Linked DNA regions of Homo sapiens: regions 2, 3 and 4 are each linked to region 1. The links are contacts of gene promoters, found by promoter capture Hi-C in human tissues and cell types (Jung and others, 2019). All regions are on one chromosome and are shown on one strand. The core of a region is centred on a gene start or on the middle of the fragment in contact, and the rest is flanking DNA. Distances in the headings are between cores, read along the strand shown. Region 1 holds the start of LRRTM1 (leucine rich repeat transmembrane neuronal 1). Region 2 overlaps CTNNA2 (catenin alpha 2). Region 3 overlaps CTNNA2 (catenin alpha 2). Region 4 overlaps CTNNA2 (catenin alpha 2).

What was found. The method cuts DNA at HindIII sites, captures the fragments that hold promoters and counts their contacts. A contact is called where the count stands out against the background at its distance.
Region 2: a fragment that was not itself captured here is called in contact with the fragment with the promoter of LRRTM1 in region 1 in 2 of the 25 tissues and cell types used here (heart right ventricle and hippocampus).
Region 3: a contact is called between a fragment that was not itself captured here and the fragment with the promoter of LRRTM1 in region 1, in 2 of the 25 tissues and cell types used here (dorsolateral prefrontal cortex and liver).
Region 4: a contact is called between a fragment that was not itself captured here and the fragment with the promoter of LRRTM1 in region 1, in 3 of the 25 tissues and cell types used here (H1 embryonic stem cells, hippocampus and thymus).

Annotation. Positions count from the first base shown.
Region 1 is chr2:80,302,625-80,306,478 of GRCh38, reverse strand. It overlaps LRRTM1 (leucine rich repeat transmembrane neuronal 1), which reads left to right and starts at 1,727. Exons shown (of 2, transcript NM_178839.5): 1 at 1,727-2,327; 2 at 2,601-3,854. The coding sequence starts at 2,660. All of the region lies in intron 7 of CTNNA2 (catenin alpha 2), which reads right to left. RefSeq lists an enhancer at 2,285-2,910. The HindIII fragment of the contact is 15,461 bases long and covers 1-3,854 here.
Region 2 is chr2:80,033,319-80,037,190 of GRCh38, reverse strand. The region is part of intron 7 of CTNNA2 (catenin alpha 2); the gene reads right to left. Among named protein-coding and RNA genes, the nearest start is that of MIR8080, 170 kb to the right of the region's middle. The HindIII fragment of the contact is 3,939 bases long and covers 89-3,872 here.
Region 3 is chr2:80,577,250-80,580,728 of GRCh38, reverse strand. The region is part of intron 13 of CTNNA2 (catenin alpha 2); the gene reads right to left. Among named protein-coding and RNA genes, the nearest start is that of LRRTM1, 270 kb to the right of the region's middle. The HindIII fragment of the contact is 4,187 bases long and covers 1-3,479 here.
Region 4 is chr2:79,933,414-79,937,327 of GRCh38, reverse strand. The region is part of intron 7 of CTNNA2 (catenin alpha 2); the gene reads right to left. Among named protein-coding and RNA genes, the nearest start is that of MIR8080, 69 kb to the right of the region's middle. The HindIII fragment of the contact is 3,809 bases long and covers 598-3,914 here.

The DNA of each region.
Region 1 (3,854 bases), core at 478-2,977:
TTAAGAAAGAAAGAAAGAGAGAGAGAGAAAGAAAGAAAGAAAGAAAGAAAGAAAGAAAGAAAGAAAGAAAGAAAGAAAAGAAAAGAAAAGAAAAGAAAAGAAAGAAAGAAAGAAAAAACCATCTGTGCCAGTTGCAAGCTGTATGACCTTGGATAAACCATGATGTCTCTTGGCCTCAGTTTAGTCACGTGCAAAATTAAGGGGGTTGATTTTCTAATGTCTCTTCTAACTCCTAAGACAGCATGTGATGTCTAGGACATTTCAGATTTGTGTTCCTTCCAATTAAATGATACATCTCAGAGATGAATGACCAGGGCAGAGCTCAGATGAATACAAAATGGAATGATTCATGCCCCTGTTCATATGACTTTTCCTGAAAAGTACCACCAGTCTTTGGTGACTTTGATTCCATTGGTTGGCCTCTTCAGCTTAGATGCTAAGGACCAATCCAGTTACTTGTCCAGTCTATCTACCCTGGCTCTGGTAATCCACCCTCATTCCTATCAAAGTAAGTGCCACTACATATAATGCCTACTGATTTTGACTTCCTTAGAGGCAGAAACGATGGGAATTCAAACAGTGGAGCTGGAGACTCACATTTGACTCTCCCTACCATCTCCCTGGGCATCTTTGTCAAGAAGGAAGGCTTGCCCACACTCACTTCCCGCAGGCTTTCTCAGCCATCTTGGAGGACTTTGTTTAAACAGATGACCAACTGACCCTCCCCAGGGCAGACCCTCTACAGACCAGTAGGCACAAGGTGTGTGTGTGGGGAGGTGGGGGGAGAGCTCATTGTAAGGACTCCTATCTATAAATGATTATGAATAGAAATAATGAGGCAAAGGCTTCTCGTCATACTCAGAGGAAAAAGTGGCACAACTTAGTGCAGTCTCAAAGATTAATTAGGATGTGTGTATGGAGACGGGTAGGCTTCATTATGGCTTAAACTATCACGTCCCTACACATTCACACTCTCTTGGAGTGGGGTGCACTGCAGGGCCCAGTAATCACCATGAACAGCACAAGTCAGGGTAAGCCCTCCCCATGTCAGACAGTACAATCGTTCTTTAATCCACTCTGTACCCCATATGTATCTGTGGAGCCTGATGAAGCCCCGGAGGGATCTCAGTCAAGTCTCCCTGCACACAGACATACCTTTTTGCCACACTGGATCTCACACCACCGGGACTTGGATGGCTTCCCAAACTAGGTGGGTTTGGAAAGCATTTCCCCTCTCCACCTCAAAAAAGGGCTGGCTGACTGCAGAATTCCAGTACCCGCAAGAGGGGGAAAAAACCCCAAAAATCTTAGCCAAGCCCCAAATCATTGCCTTCCTGTGTCTTCTCTCAAGTTGCTTTTCTAAAGCAAAGGTCCAAACGTTGATTTCTCTACAGATTCCTACGTATCTCTTACACGTAGACAGTTTTAAAGGGGAAAAGAATATATCCCCAAAAGGCAAGGGGGAGAGCACAGAACATTTCAGTTTCCCACTTGGAAATATCTTGTCGTGGATGATGCTACCCCTACCTCCACCTCCCTCCCCCCTCCTTTTTTTTTTTTTTTTTTTTTTTGAAATATGGACAAAAAAGCTGAAAGTGTTTTCCGTTTCATCAAAAAACATATATTACTTTAGTGGTTCGGTAAAATGTTGGTTTTATGCCCACCCCTTTTCAATCTGCCCATGTCTGAGGTGCTCGGGGAAGACGCACAATCGTGAGCAGCTTACGACACTCAGTGAGCAGTAGGTGCCTGTGCAAGCTCGCGCCGCACACTGCCTGGTGGAGGGAAGGAGCCCGGGCGCCGCTCGCCGCTCCCCGCGCCGCCGTCCGCACCTCCCCACCGCCCGCCGCCCGCCGCCCGCCGCCCGCAAAGCATGAGTGAGCCCGCTCTCTGCAGCTGCCCGGGGCGCGAATGGCAGGCTGTTTCCGCGGAGTAAAAGGTGGCGCCGGTCAGTGGTCGTTTCCAATGACGGACATTAACCAGACTGTCAGATCCTGGGGAGTCGCGAGCCCCGAGTTTGGAGTTTTTTCCCCCCACAACGTCACAGTCCGAACTGCAGAGGGAAAGGAAGGCGGCAGGAAGGCGAAGCTCGGGCTCCGGCACGTAGTTGGGAAACTTGCGGGTCCTAGAAGTCGCCTCCCCGCCTTGCCGGCCGCCCTTGCAGCCCCGAGCCGAGCAGCAAAGTGAGACATTGTGCGCCTGCCAGATCCGCCGGCCGCGGACCGGGGCTGCCTCGGAAACACAGAGGGGTCTTCTCTCGCCCTGCATATAATTAGCCTGCACACAAAGGGAGCAGCTGAATGGAGGTTGTCACTCTCTGGAAAAGGGTGGGTAAGACACTTTTTAATTAAATTCTTTCCCGAAGATTTTTTTTTTCCTCCCTTTTCTTTGCTGCAGCATCTAACATGGACCAAATCACCATCTCTTTGATCTTTCCGTGGCTGTGAACTTTCTATGCTGCCCAGCTTTCTGCATGCTTAGAGGTGAACGTGTGGTTTTTGGGGAGGGGGGTCCTTCTTTATTTCTATGTATTTATTTGATTTTTTGCCCTTTTCTCCCCCTCCCCCGCTTCCCCTCCCTCGGAATAAAATATGATGTAGATTTCTGACCGAGCGCTTCCAATGGACATTCTCCAGTCTCTCTGGAAAGATTCTCGCTAATGGATTTCCTGCTGCTCGGTCTCTGTCTATACTGGCTGCTGAGGAGGCCCTCGGGGGTGGTCTTGTGTCTGCTGGGGGCCTGCTTTCAGATGCTGCCCGCCGCCCCCAGCGGGTGCCCGCAGCTGTGCCGGTGCGAGGGGCGGCTGCTGTACTGCGAGGCGCTCAACCTCACCGAGGCGCCCCACAACCTGTCCGGCCTGCTGGGCTTGTCCCTGCGCTACAACAGCCTCTCGGAGCTGCGCGCCGGCCAGTTCACGGGGTTAATGCAGCTCACGTGGCTCTATCTGGATCACAATCACATCTGCTCCGTGCAGGGGGACGCCTTTCAGAAACTGCGCCGAGTTAAGGAACTCACGCTGAGTTCCAACCAGATCACCCAACTGCCCAACACCACCTTCCGGCCCATGCCCAACCTGCGCAGCGTGGACCTCTCGTACAACAAGCTGCAGGCGCTCGCGCCCGACCTCTTCCACGGGCTGCGGAAGCTCACCACGCTGCATATGCGGGCCAACGCCATCCAGTTTGTGCCCGTGCGCATCTTCCAGGACTGCCGCAGCCTCAAGTTTCTCGACATCGGATACAATCAGCTCAAGAGTCTGGCGCGCAACTCTTTCGCCGGCTTGTTTAAGCTCACCGAGCTGCACCTCGAGCACAACGACTTGGTCAAGGTGAACTTCGCCCACTTCCCGCGCCTCATCTCCCTGCACTCGCTCTGCCTGCGGAGGAACAAGGTGGCCATTGTGGTCAGCTCGCTGGACTGGGTTTGGAACCTGGAGAAAATGGACTTGTCGGGCAACGAGATCGAGTACATGGAGCCCCATGTGTTCGAGACCGTGCCGCACCTGCAGTCCCTGCAGCTGGACTCCAACCGCCTCACCTACATCGAGCCCCGGATCCTCAACTCTTGGAAGTCCCTGACAAGCATCACCCTGGCCGGGAACCTGTGGGATTGCGGGCGCAACGTGTGTGCCCTAGCCTCGTGGCTCAACAACTTCCAGGGGCGCTACGATGGCAACTTGCAGTGCGCCAGCCCGGAGTACGCACAGGGCGAGGACGTCCTGGACGCCGTGTACGCCTTCCACCTGTGCGAGGATGGGGCCGAGCCCACCAGCGGCCACCTGCTCTCGGCCGTCACCAACCGCAGTGATCTGGGGCCCCCTGCCAGCTCGGCCACCACGCTCGCGGACGGCGGGG
Region 2 (3,872 bases), core at 809-3,308, 270 kb after region 1:
ACCCATATTCCCTCACCCCTTCATCTTCTTACAACAAGTCCAGAATCTGAGCTAGGACAGCTAGCAAAAGAGAAACTGGTCCATCCAGCTTAGGTCCTCATATTCGTATCTTTGACTCAACAGTAACATTCATTCCTCCTTTTCCAGTTCTACAGTAATTCAATGGACAAGTTTCACCAATATCTACAACGAAACTTTCCAATATCTATATGATCCTGAAGCAGAGTTCCCAGTGTGAGCTCCGCTCTTCCCACCTTCATAACCCAATAGTTTCTCACAAAACTCCTAATTGAGATTTCACCTCCTTCCTCTTCTCTCTCTCTCTCTCTCTCTCTCTCTCTCACACACACACACACACACACACACAAACACACACACACAATGAATGAGTGAGTGACTGTGAATGGTATTCTCTTTTGTCCATTTTTCTTTACATCCTCAGTGACATGGAGGTGCTTGGCTTCCCCACCCACCAGGATCTTCCCTTCCCATGAGAAGCTCCCTGCTGTCAACATAGTCTCCCAGCTCATGTTTATCTCCTTGAGTGTTTCTATTTTTATTTACTTTTGTTCCTATTTTTTTCACTAAGACAGGGTCTCACTCTGTTGCCCAGGCTAAAGTACAGTGGTGCTATCATAGCTCACTGCAACCTAGAATTTCTGGGCTCAAGCAATCTTCCCACCTCAGCTTCCCAAGTAGCTGGGACTACAGGCACATCCCACCACACCAGGCTAATTTTTATTTACTTATTTACTTCTTCTGTAGAGATGGGGTATTGCTATGTTGCAGGGATGGTCTGGAACTCCTGGCCTCAAGCAATCTTCCCACCTTGGCCTCCCAAATTGCTGGGATAACAGGTGTGAGCAACTGCACCTGTCTGAGTGTCTTAACCTATACTTACAGTCTCCTAATCCTAGAAACTTTCCACACATTCTCTCTGTCTCTGACTCTCTCTTTCTTACTCTGTCTCTGGGTCTGCATTAATTTCACCTCCCTCTATCCCTTCTATCTTCTCTGTCGTCCCTGACATGCTCCAGTCTCTAGTAGATTATCGCACTGCTTCTATCCAGCACTCTGCTAGGGTTGGGTGACGCTGGTGGGGGTAGGAGGGGCCCCAGTTCCTCAAACCCTGATTTAGACCCAATCCTCAGAAAGCCCTGATGAGACCGTCATGTGGGACTGAATCAAAAGACTTGCTGTGGCTCATGTAGATTACATCTATTGCTTTTCTCCTATCTCTGTGACCTGTCATTCTGTCATAGGAGGAAATTGAATTGGCCCACACAGTTTTCTCTTTACAATACCATGCTGGTTGCTACCCAGTTCCTCAGGCTGCACTGAAAGATGGAAAATTGATTGCCAGATGTTGTTTTGGTGTCTTCCTAGGTACTGAAGGTGACTGATGATTCGATACAGGTGAAATTCACTTTATCCAGTTCCTGTTTCTCTGAGAACTTGTGCAAATCAAATTTCATACAAATTGAATTTTACTTCCTTCTTTTTTTTATTTTTTAAAGATACTTGATTTCAGATGGAGCCTTAATGGTCTGTATCTCTTAGCATTAGAGCTGTGATGCTGTCCCCTTTCAATCCTCAGGCACTCTGGGACTTCATGAGATATATATTTTTAAATGTACAAATACACTGGGTGAACTATAGCAAATAAATATTAGTAGGTGCTAGGCTGTCAGATTAGTTTCTAAAGTTTATAAGTTTATATAGAGAAGGCAGAGCCCCTTAGAGTAGTAACTGTCCTTTTTACAACAATTGTGAACCAAATACCTTGCTAAGTGCTTTGTAAATATTTTTCTCATTTAATCTTCCCAATTTTTTTTAGGTGGTAGTGATTATCTTCGTTTCTAGGTGATACCATTGAAGCCCAGACACAACATGTAACTTGCCCAAATTTACCCAGATGTAAGCGGTGGAGACAGGATTAGAAACCTGCAAGTATGAACATATGTTACTATTTTCCCTTTGTAACACAAAAGTCAACCTGCTACACACACTCCTCTTTATGTTGAATTGTTTCTGAACCGTATCCCTGGGAGATTTACCCAAAATAACACATAGGGAGGGGCCACATTCTTTTTCTCAATTACATAATGTTCATTTGTATGGATGGACCATACTTCATTTAACCAGTCCCCTAATGATGGACACTGGATTTTTCCCTAACCTTTTGCTATTTTTAAAAGAATGCCATAATGAAATTTTACGTATTATTTCACATAATATGAAGGATAAGTTCCAAGGACAGCATTTCTCTGTATTCTCAGAGCGGTATATGAATTTGAAATTTTGTAATTTTTGTAGTTGTTTCTAAACAGACTTCTTCTACAGGAGTTGTGCAGATTTATGCTCCCTTCCTCCCCCACTGCATTCTATGAGAATGTCCATTTCCTCACGCTCTCACCAACAGAATGTTTTATCAAATTGTGGATTTCAGCCAATTTGACAAGTGAAAAAGAAAAACCAAACTAACAGTATCTCAATGTATTTTAAATTTGCATTTATTTTATTAAGAATGAAGTTGAGGGTGGGCGTGGTGGCTCACACCTGTAATCCCAGCACTGTGGGAGGCAGAAGCGGGCGGATCACCTGAGGTCAGGAGTTTGAGATCAGCCTGGCCAAAATGGTGAAACCCTAACTCCAATAAAAATACAAAAATTAGCCAGGAGTGGTGGTGGTTGCCTGTAGTCCCAGCTACTTGGGAGGCTGAGGCAGGAGAATCGCTTGAACCTGGGAGGTGGAAGTTGCAGTGAGTCGAGATCATGCCACTGCAGTCCAGCTTGGGTGACAGAGCGAGACTCCGTATCAAAAAAAAAAAAAAAAAGAAAAAAAAATGAAATTCAGCATTTTTCATATGGTTAAGAACTGTTTGTACTTCCCTGTCAGTGATTATTTGTTTATATTCTTTTTCAGTTCTATTGAGTAGAAAATCTTTTTTCTTCATGATTTCCAAAATCTCTTTTTATAGGGATGTTTTACGGAAAATTAGGCCTGTTATATGAATTGCAGAAGCTTCTCCCAGTCAATCAGTGGTCTTTTGACATGTTCCCCCGTAGAGAAGGTTTTTATTTTCATATGGTTGGATTTATCCTTTCCTTTAATGATTAATGGATTTTCAGTCATATTTAAAAGCCGCCTCTCTACTTCAAGTTCATAAAGGAATTTGTCCATGTTTTCTTTCAGTGCTTTTTTTTTTTTTTTTTTTTACATTATAAGCTTTGATTTGTTTGTAATCTATGCTGGTGTGTGGCTCAAGATAACAATCCAACAGTAATTTTATGTTTTTGTTGCAGACTGCTACAATTTTTACTGAATGATCTATATTTTCCTCACTGCTTTAAGATGATACATTTTCATACACTGAATTTCCATATGCATTTAGATCAACTGTCCAGAATGTCCATTATTTTCCAGAGATCTCTTCATGTATTCATAGAAGCTTGCAGTGTATTCTCAATTTCTAACCATAGATACTTCATTAATCTTCTTATACGGTATTTGTTCATTCATTGTCTAATTTGCTGATTTTTGCATATAAACTTCAGAACTAATGTGTCTGATTCTACGAATTTGGTGAGTGTTTTTTGTTTTTGTTTTTGTTTTTCAGAGTCTCACTCTGTCATCCAGGCTGGTGTGCAGTGGCCTGATCACGGGTCACTCACTGCAGCCTCAACCTCCTGGGCTTCATTGATCCTCCCACCTCACAGCCTCCTGAGTAGCTGGGCCTACAGGTGCATGCCACCAAGCCTGGCTAATTTCTAATTTTTTTTGTGGAGACAGAGTCCACCATGTTGCCCAAGCTGGTCTTGAATTCCTAGGCTTGAGAGACACCTTCCTCAAACCCCATCATGGTCTCCCAA
Region 3 (3,479 bases), core at 678-3,177, 270 kb before region 1:
ATTATTATTAGGATTTTTAAATCAATTCATTCAACAAAGTTTATGAAATGAAGCTACTGATTACCACATACCCATAAAGGATTAAATAACTTTTACATATGTATTATCAATTTAGCTCAGATGAGCACAGTGACATTAGGGATCATTCTCTATTTAGAGGTAAGTAATACAAGGTGCAAAGAAGTTAAGCCATTTGCCCCATATCCCTAAATTAGTTAATAAAGAACCAGAAGTTAGATCTAAACACCCAGGTGTGTCTGACTCCAAACATACTTCTCATTATTAGTTTTTGTTGTAGTTTATTCACGTTACAAATTTAGCAAGAACTGAAGTTATAAAATTGCTTAAAAAGAGTAGAGTTAGATCAAGATCCTTTCCAATCTATAAAGTCAGTGATAAGGAAAAGATAAGAAAGAATCCATAAGCCCAGGAACAAAACACCTTTCCATCTTCAATGGCAATAATAATAGATAACTGTGCATTAAGTGCTTACCATGTATGTGTCTGTCAACGTTTTTTCTAAGTGCTTTACAGGCACTAACTCACGCAGGTTTCTTAACACTCGTATGATGTAGACATTATTTTCTCCATTTTCCAGGTAGGAAAACTGAGGCATGAGACGTTATAGCTTGCTCTAAGGCTTTGCTAACTCTATGAGGTTAAATTCGAACGGTAGTAAGGATGGTGCACAAAAGTGAGTGAGTGAATCAGTGTGAGATTAGCCTGACAGGTGATGGTCTTCCACAGACTGCCTCTTGGCATACAGTAGGACCACATTCCAGGGCTTTGTCTTTCAAAAGAAAAGAGCAGACCACAAGGAATACCGATGATGTAGTTGCCCATTCCCCATCCAAAAGGGCACATTTTTATTCTGCTGGTTTCTTTGGCTACCACAGTGTAATTAATCAGGTGTGGTTATTGATGAAGGCTTGAGATTGGTCAGACAGGCATAAAATGGGGTCCTTCGTGCCAATAGCACGTTATGCCTAGTAATTTTCCAAGCTTTGGCATATCACTCTTGTTTTTCCTTCTCTCTCACCATCAACCTTATTAACATTCACTCAGTCATCTACAGATGTTTACTTTCATAGGAATATTAAAATAAGGAGAGAAGAAAGAGGTTTTGTTCTCATATTTTATTAACTAAAGCAGGGCTACAGTAGGCAGAGCCCAGTTCAAGTAACTGGTTGTATTTTTATTGTGGACAGAGACAATATTCTCTGATCATTTCTCCCTCTTTTGCAGTGTACTGTGGGACAATTATAGCAAGTTGGTAAATTCAGCTGACAGATGAGATGACAAGATTACAAGCGCTTTTTGTCATAAGTTCTTGAAAGAGAAAAAGTAAATCGAAAAATCTCATTCAACAAAAATAAGCAGAATATGACAGTTCTTATAGTACTGTGCCCAAACATTTCAGTGATCTGTGCATTCAGTAGATGAGTCAATGACAAACCCAACCTGGCAGCATAAGGCTAATAATGATGAGTTTTTATTCAAGAGACAATGGCCCAAGAACCAAAATAAAGAAAAACATTAAAATCAAAAGAGGTATTAACCTGGACGAGGACTCAGGGGACCTGCATGTTTTGACCTAACTCTGCCATTCACAAGCTATATGTCTTTGGCAAGTCACTTAGTTTCACTACTTCTGTGTCTCCCTGCTCATAAAACGGAGATTATAATTGCTATATGCACTTTCTGCCCCACAGGACTCCTAAGCTTAGATGTATAGGAAAATGCTTTAGGAACCATAAAAATTAACTAAATTCATAAATGATGGTGATAATTACTGTGCTTAATAATAAAATATAACACCTAATAACAACAACAGCAATAATAATGGCAATCATTGTTTACCACCCACTATGGGACAGGCATTCAGCTAAAGAATTTGATCCTTACAAAAACCTAATGAAATAAATGTAATCACCATTTTATAGGTGTGTGAACAGGCTCAGAACTGTTGAGTATATTTTCCAAAGCATCACACCTAGCAAGTGATGGAGGCGGGCAACAAGTTGACGGTTTCAGAGCCCATGATTTTAACCATCACAAATACCACCAGGCAAATAGATGAGCTTAAGCTATTTACATGTACCTTAAACACGCAACAAACCCATCCAGCCCATCCATATAAAAAGTTCTGTGCATGTGCAGTTTGCTAATTGCATGTGAGTGTGTCTCCTACTCGTGGCATTCTTTTTTGAATTACACATTTTTAAAACTATGAGTGCTATTTTTTAGTTGGTCAAAGACCTCCATGAATTAAAGGAAACATGGAAAATTACAGAGGGTCTGCAAATGGGCCCAGGAAGATTACGCTTCTATCATTAGATAGTGTTACAGGGTAAAGGAATAAATAAAATAAACAGTTCGCTGTACTGGAGGATAGAGACTGAGGGTGAAAGTTCTATGTGCTCTTTGGGAAGGCTTTTTTCAATAAACAGAAACTATTTAAAGTCTACTCCTAGTTTCGTGGTTCCACTATTTTATGTTTTGTTATGGAAGTGGGTCATATCTGTAAAATGGCACCAAGTATTCAGACTCCAGATTCTCTCCTAAAAGTCTATGAGATTAACTTGTGCCCATTACAGGGGCCCAGGGAGATCATGTGGCTTGACCAGGGTCATACCACATGTCAGTTGCAAAACAGGACCCGTTCACCTGCTGCTGGTGCTCTATTCCTCTGCAACAGCCTCTATAGAGAAACAAAGTGAGAAAGTATTGAAGGATTCAGTCATTTCACCTGGACATGTGAGTTGTTGAGTAAATTTTACAAATGAGTCCCGGTGAAATGACTCTGAATCCTTCAGTATTTTCTCATTTTTCATAAAATGTAATAAGAACCATTGAAAGAAACGGCCCAAATGTGTATGAGAATTTCACTGGGAGAAGGCTGAGAATATAGGTTGGCAGGAGAGCTTGAGAGATGCATGAGGTAGGATTTCCCAACAGAGCTCAACACCACTGGAATGGGCTGCAGACTAGAAAATCAAATTAGAGATCCAAAGGTAAAAACAAAACAACAACAACAACAAAATGAAAAAACTCCCTAGTCAGGAGTGATTGGCGACCAGCAAGTCTGGCCTGGCCTGGATTATTCTGGAGGTTCCTAACTGATCTTGCTTCTGCTCTTGCCCCATACATTCTGTTCTCACCAGCATGGCCATGGTGGTCCTTTTAAGGTCTAAGTCAGATCACACTATTCCCCTGCTCAGAACCCTCCAGTGGCTCCCAACTCATTCAATAAGGTCCTTAGGTCTCTAGGTCAAGTTCCTGGCTCCAACCTTTGCACTTGACATTTCCTCCGCCGGAAACATGCTCCACCTGAGTACCGTTAGGGCTTATTTCTTCTTCCTTCTCCCAGTATCTTCTCAAATGCCACCCAGGTACCTCCTTTCATGAGATCCATGCCCACCAGAAGCTCTATCCCCTTTAGGATACTTTGGTTTTCTCTGTGGCATAATGTTTGACAT
Region 4 (3,914 bases), core at 1,253-3,752, 370 kb after region 1:
GTTGTTTGTAACACTGATAGTAGTTTCCTTTATAAAAGTGCTATATGTGGCTGTTAGTTCTTCCAGCCAGGCCAGAAAACCCTAACTTAGAATGTAAGTCAACTGGCTTACATTTGAAACAAAAATTGATGTTTAAAGCAAAGCACTACCAAATACTATTATGATGTTGACAATTAAGTAGAAATGACAAGAAATTGAATAAGAAACCTCTATGTAATTTTTATGAATATTTGTTTTCCATTGGGAAGAATATTTAATAAGAAGGGAGGAAGAGGTCATAAAAAGACATCTGGAGGTCAATGGCATTATTTTCTATGTGTAATTTCATCACAAAACAATGGAAACTACCTTCACATCAATACTTAGCAAACAGGATAAGAAAAGTGGCTCTTTCGCGGCTTACTTAGGTCATGTAACATGACAGAAAACGAAAGAAAGGTGAGTGTGGGGAGGAGATAAGAGAAAAATCTAAGAGACTTCAAGCTTCAAGACTCTTCATCTGCACAGGCCTCCTCTAAATCCTGGTATCTAATGTTTATTCATGATTTTGTATTATTTTTAACTAGAGTCTCCCAAGTGTATAAATTTTAGACCTCTACCCCTGGAAAGACTGTGAAACTTCTCTAATATAATGAGGCAAGATGGATTAAGGTGAGGAACGATGGCTTAAGGTAAGGAAAATGGTTATGCCAGTATCCAAAAGAAAGAAGCTTCCTTAGACAACTTTAATTAAGCCTGTCTACAACTGAGGTGGGTTGAAAGATGCTAGGAAAAAAAAAAAAGGACGCTTGGAGTTTCCAGAAACAGCCACTAGATGGTGGCACTCGAAGGGCCAGAGGATGCCGGTTGCAGGCAAGAGCCAAGAGGAGGAAAAGGGGGTCGGGTTGTCTGTAACTCTGTTCCCACAGGGCACATTCAGGAAGTAGAGGCATAAATAAGGGATTTTCACCATTCCTCCTTTCACAGGTATGACAATTAAATAATACCGTAAACTGTAGATAAACTTTGTACCTTTATAAGGCATTCAAAAGCATTCACCACTGAAAATTCTCTGGGTGACTACAGAGAAAAAAAAAAAATCCCAGCATGAGAAAAAAAATAAAAAAAAACAAACTCAGAAATACTGAGGAAACGAGTACTGCCTCAGAAAGAAAAAAAAAATAGAATCAAACGAATATGGTTTTCTTCACATTTAGAATACACTAAATAGAGCACATTGTTCTTTTAAGCCTCTTTGACTCTGATGTCTTATTAGAAATCCTGTACCAAATAAGCATAAGCCTTTCATTTTAGTTATTATTAAATCTCTCTTCATTGCCATTCTATAACATCAGCATGCAGATTGCTCAATTACACGGGAAACGGTTGCAGCATGCAAGTCTGCCCTCTTCTGGTCATGTCCTTTGACAGTCCAAAGAACTGTGACTTGCATTTAATTTTGATTTCAACAACTGGGTAAATAAACCTAAAAAGGGAAAAAAATGCCACTCAAAAAGGAAATCTCTGCAAGGAAAAATAACACAAGGTGTATTATTTATTACTGCCAGGCCTCTGTCAACATTCTTTCGAAAATAATCAGCAAACCCCAAAACGTTTTAGAGGGACAATTTGTAAAAGGTAGTCATTTCTCCACCCCAGTTAGATTTATGCATTCATCTCATGTATAGTCTTCGTATAACTACAATGTGACACCAATTCTTCTATTTCAAAGATATTTGAAATGTAGAATTTCACTAGAGCATTGAACAAGGTGAGCCAGACTGGGCTGATCATGAGATCAACTAAATCCAGGGCACTAAAAATAAATGATAGCCTCTCTTTGTGAGGCTGCAGTGTAACAGGAGAGTGTGGGGTCAAAAATAGGGCAAAATGTTAACAGGCAAATCTGAGTAAAGCATATATCGTTCTTTGTACTTTTCTGCAACTTTTTGTAAATTTAAAATTATTTCCAAATAAAAAGTTAAAAAAAAAAAAAGAGAGAGAGAGAAAGAAGAAATACGGGCTCTGGGCAGACCAGTCTAAATTGTGGTTTTGCCTCCATGTGACTTTGGACAAGGCATTTAATTTTTTGGAGGCTCTGCCCCCTCATCTATAAAACAAAGACAATAGTGTTCTTCCCTAGTATGGCTGTCAGCAGAATCAAAAGAAGTAATAAGTGCAAAGCACCTAACACCACGGCTGGCAGAGAATAGCCTGTCAGTAATGTAGTCATTATTTTCATTGTTGTTATTATTCATTAGGGAGGAAGATGGGTGTCCGTCAAGGAGATAATGCTAACTCTGCTCCCCCTCTCTGGCAAACATCAAAAAAATATACCAACTTTAACTGTATAACTTGTTAAGGATCTATGCAACTGCAATCTCATCCAAATAACTATTGAGCCCTATTTATACATCCATTCTAAAATTCCTCTTAGCAAACTCATTCAAACTTCTACTTATCTTTGAAAGTAAAACCTTGGTGCATTTATTCTAAATCTATCTCTTTTCAGTAATGCTACCTACATTTGTAACATAAAATAGGATTTAAGCCATTGGGCTAGGTTCTTTCATTACACCAAAGGGTCCCATGTCTTTTTTGGGGGGAAATGAGGAAGAGCTCACCTTGTTCCCCTCTGTATATCACATCTGGTAGTGTCTAATCCTGAGCTGCAGAGCAAGGACACAGCTTTCATCACAGAAGAGGCAACCAGTCCCTTAAGCCACATACCCTCCCTACTTGGGATGCTCAAAGACTTCTGGGCTGGGACTTGCCTTTGGAATGATGTAAGGACAATGGGCTTAGAATACAAGGAAAGCTGAGTGTAAACTCAAGTCCCACCTGTAGTAGCTCTTCTGACCCCAATCATATTGACTTATTTGAGCCTCAATTTATTTATCTGTGAAATGGGAACAACCACTCAACAATTTTGTAGAGTTGCACAGTTAAAGATAACACATGATTTTAAAAGTAGGCAAATTATTATTGCTATTAGTGTTTGGCTGTTGCTGATATTATTAGATTGGTGCAAAAGTAATTGCTGTTTTTACAGTTACTTTTGCACCAGCCTAATATAGTTAAGTTCTGTAATCAGGCCAAATTGATTTTCATCTTCTTAATTCAAACACAAAGTCAGAGAAAATAGAATTTCTTTTTAAAATGTATTTGGATGATAGGCAAAATTAAAATAGTTCAAGAATGTTTTTCAGACCATATAGGCATATAATTTTAAAGCTCAACCTTAGAAATTATGTATCTCTGCTTTCTCATTTTATACATAAATAAAATATTCAAAGTTTATAGTTACAGCTTAGTGCCGACCTGAACCTAAAACATAGACCTCTTCTGTTTTCATTTTGGAATGGTTTCTATTACCTCATGGAACTTCCTTAAATTTTATATTTATTACTGATCTTTAAATGCTCCATATGCAATGTTATCTGGAGATGTGATCAAGCTGTCACAACTATTCAAAAAATGTTAAAAAACTAAAACCACACAAAGCATTAATGCAGGTAAATGAAGCACAGAAACATTTTAAGTGTGCTTAAAAGCATACAGGTGGTTAGACCATGTAAAGAATAGTAATTCCAGGGCTGGGTGCGATGGCTCATGCCTGTAATCCCAGCACTTTGGGAGGCCGAGGCAGGTGGATCACCTGAGGTCAGGAGTTCGAGACCAGCCTGGCCAACATGGTGAAACCCCGTCTCTACTAAAAATACAAAAATTAGTCAGGTGTGGTGGCAGGTGCCTGTAATCCTGGCTACTAGGGAGGCTGAGGCAGGAGAATGGCATGAACCCGGGACGCAGAGGTTGCAGTGAGCCGAGATCTTGCCATTGTACTCCAGCCTGGGCGACAGAGGAAGACTCCATCTCAAAAAAAAAAAAAAGAGAATACCAGAAGCCCAAAGATCTAGATTTGAATTTCAGCCTCT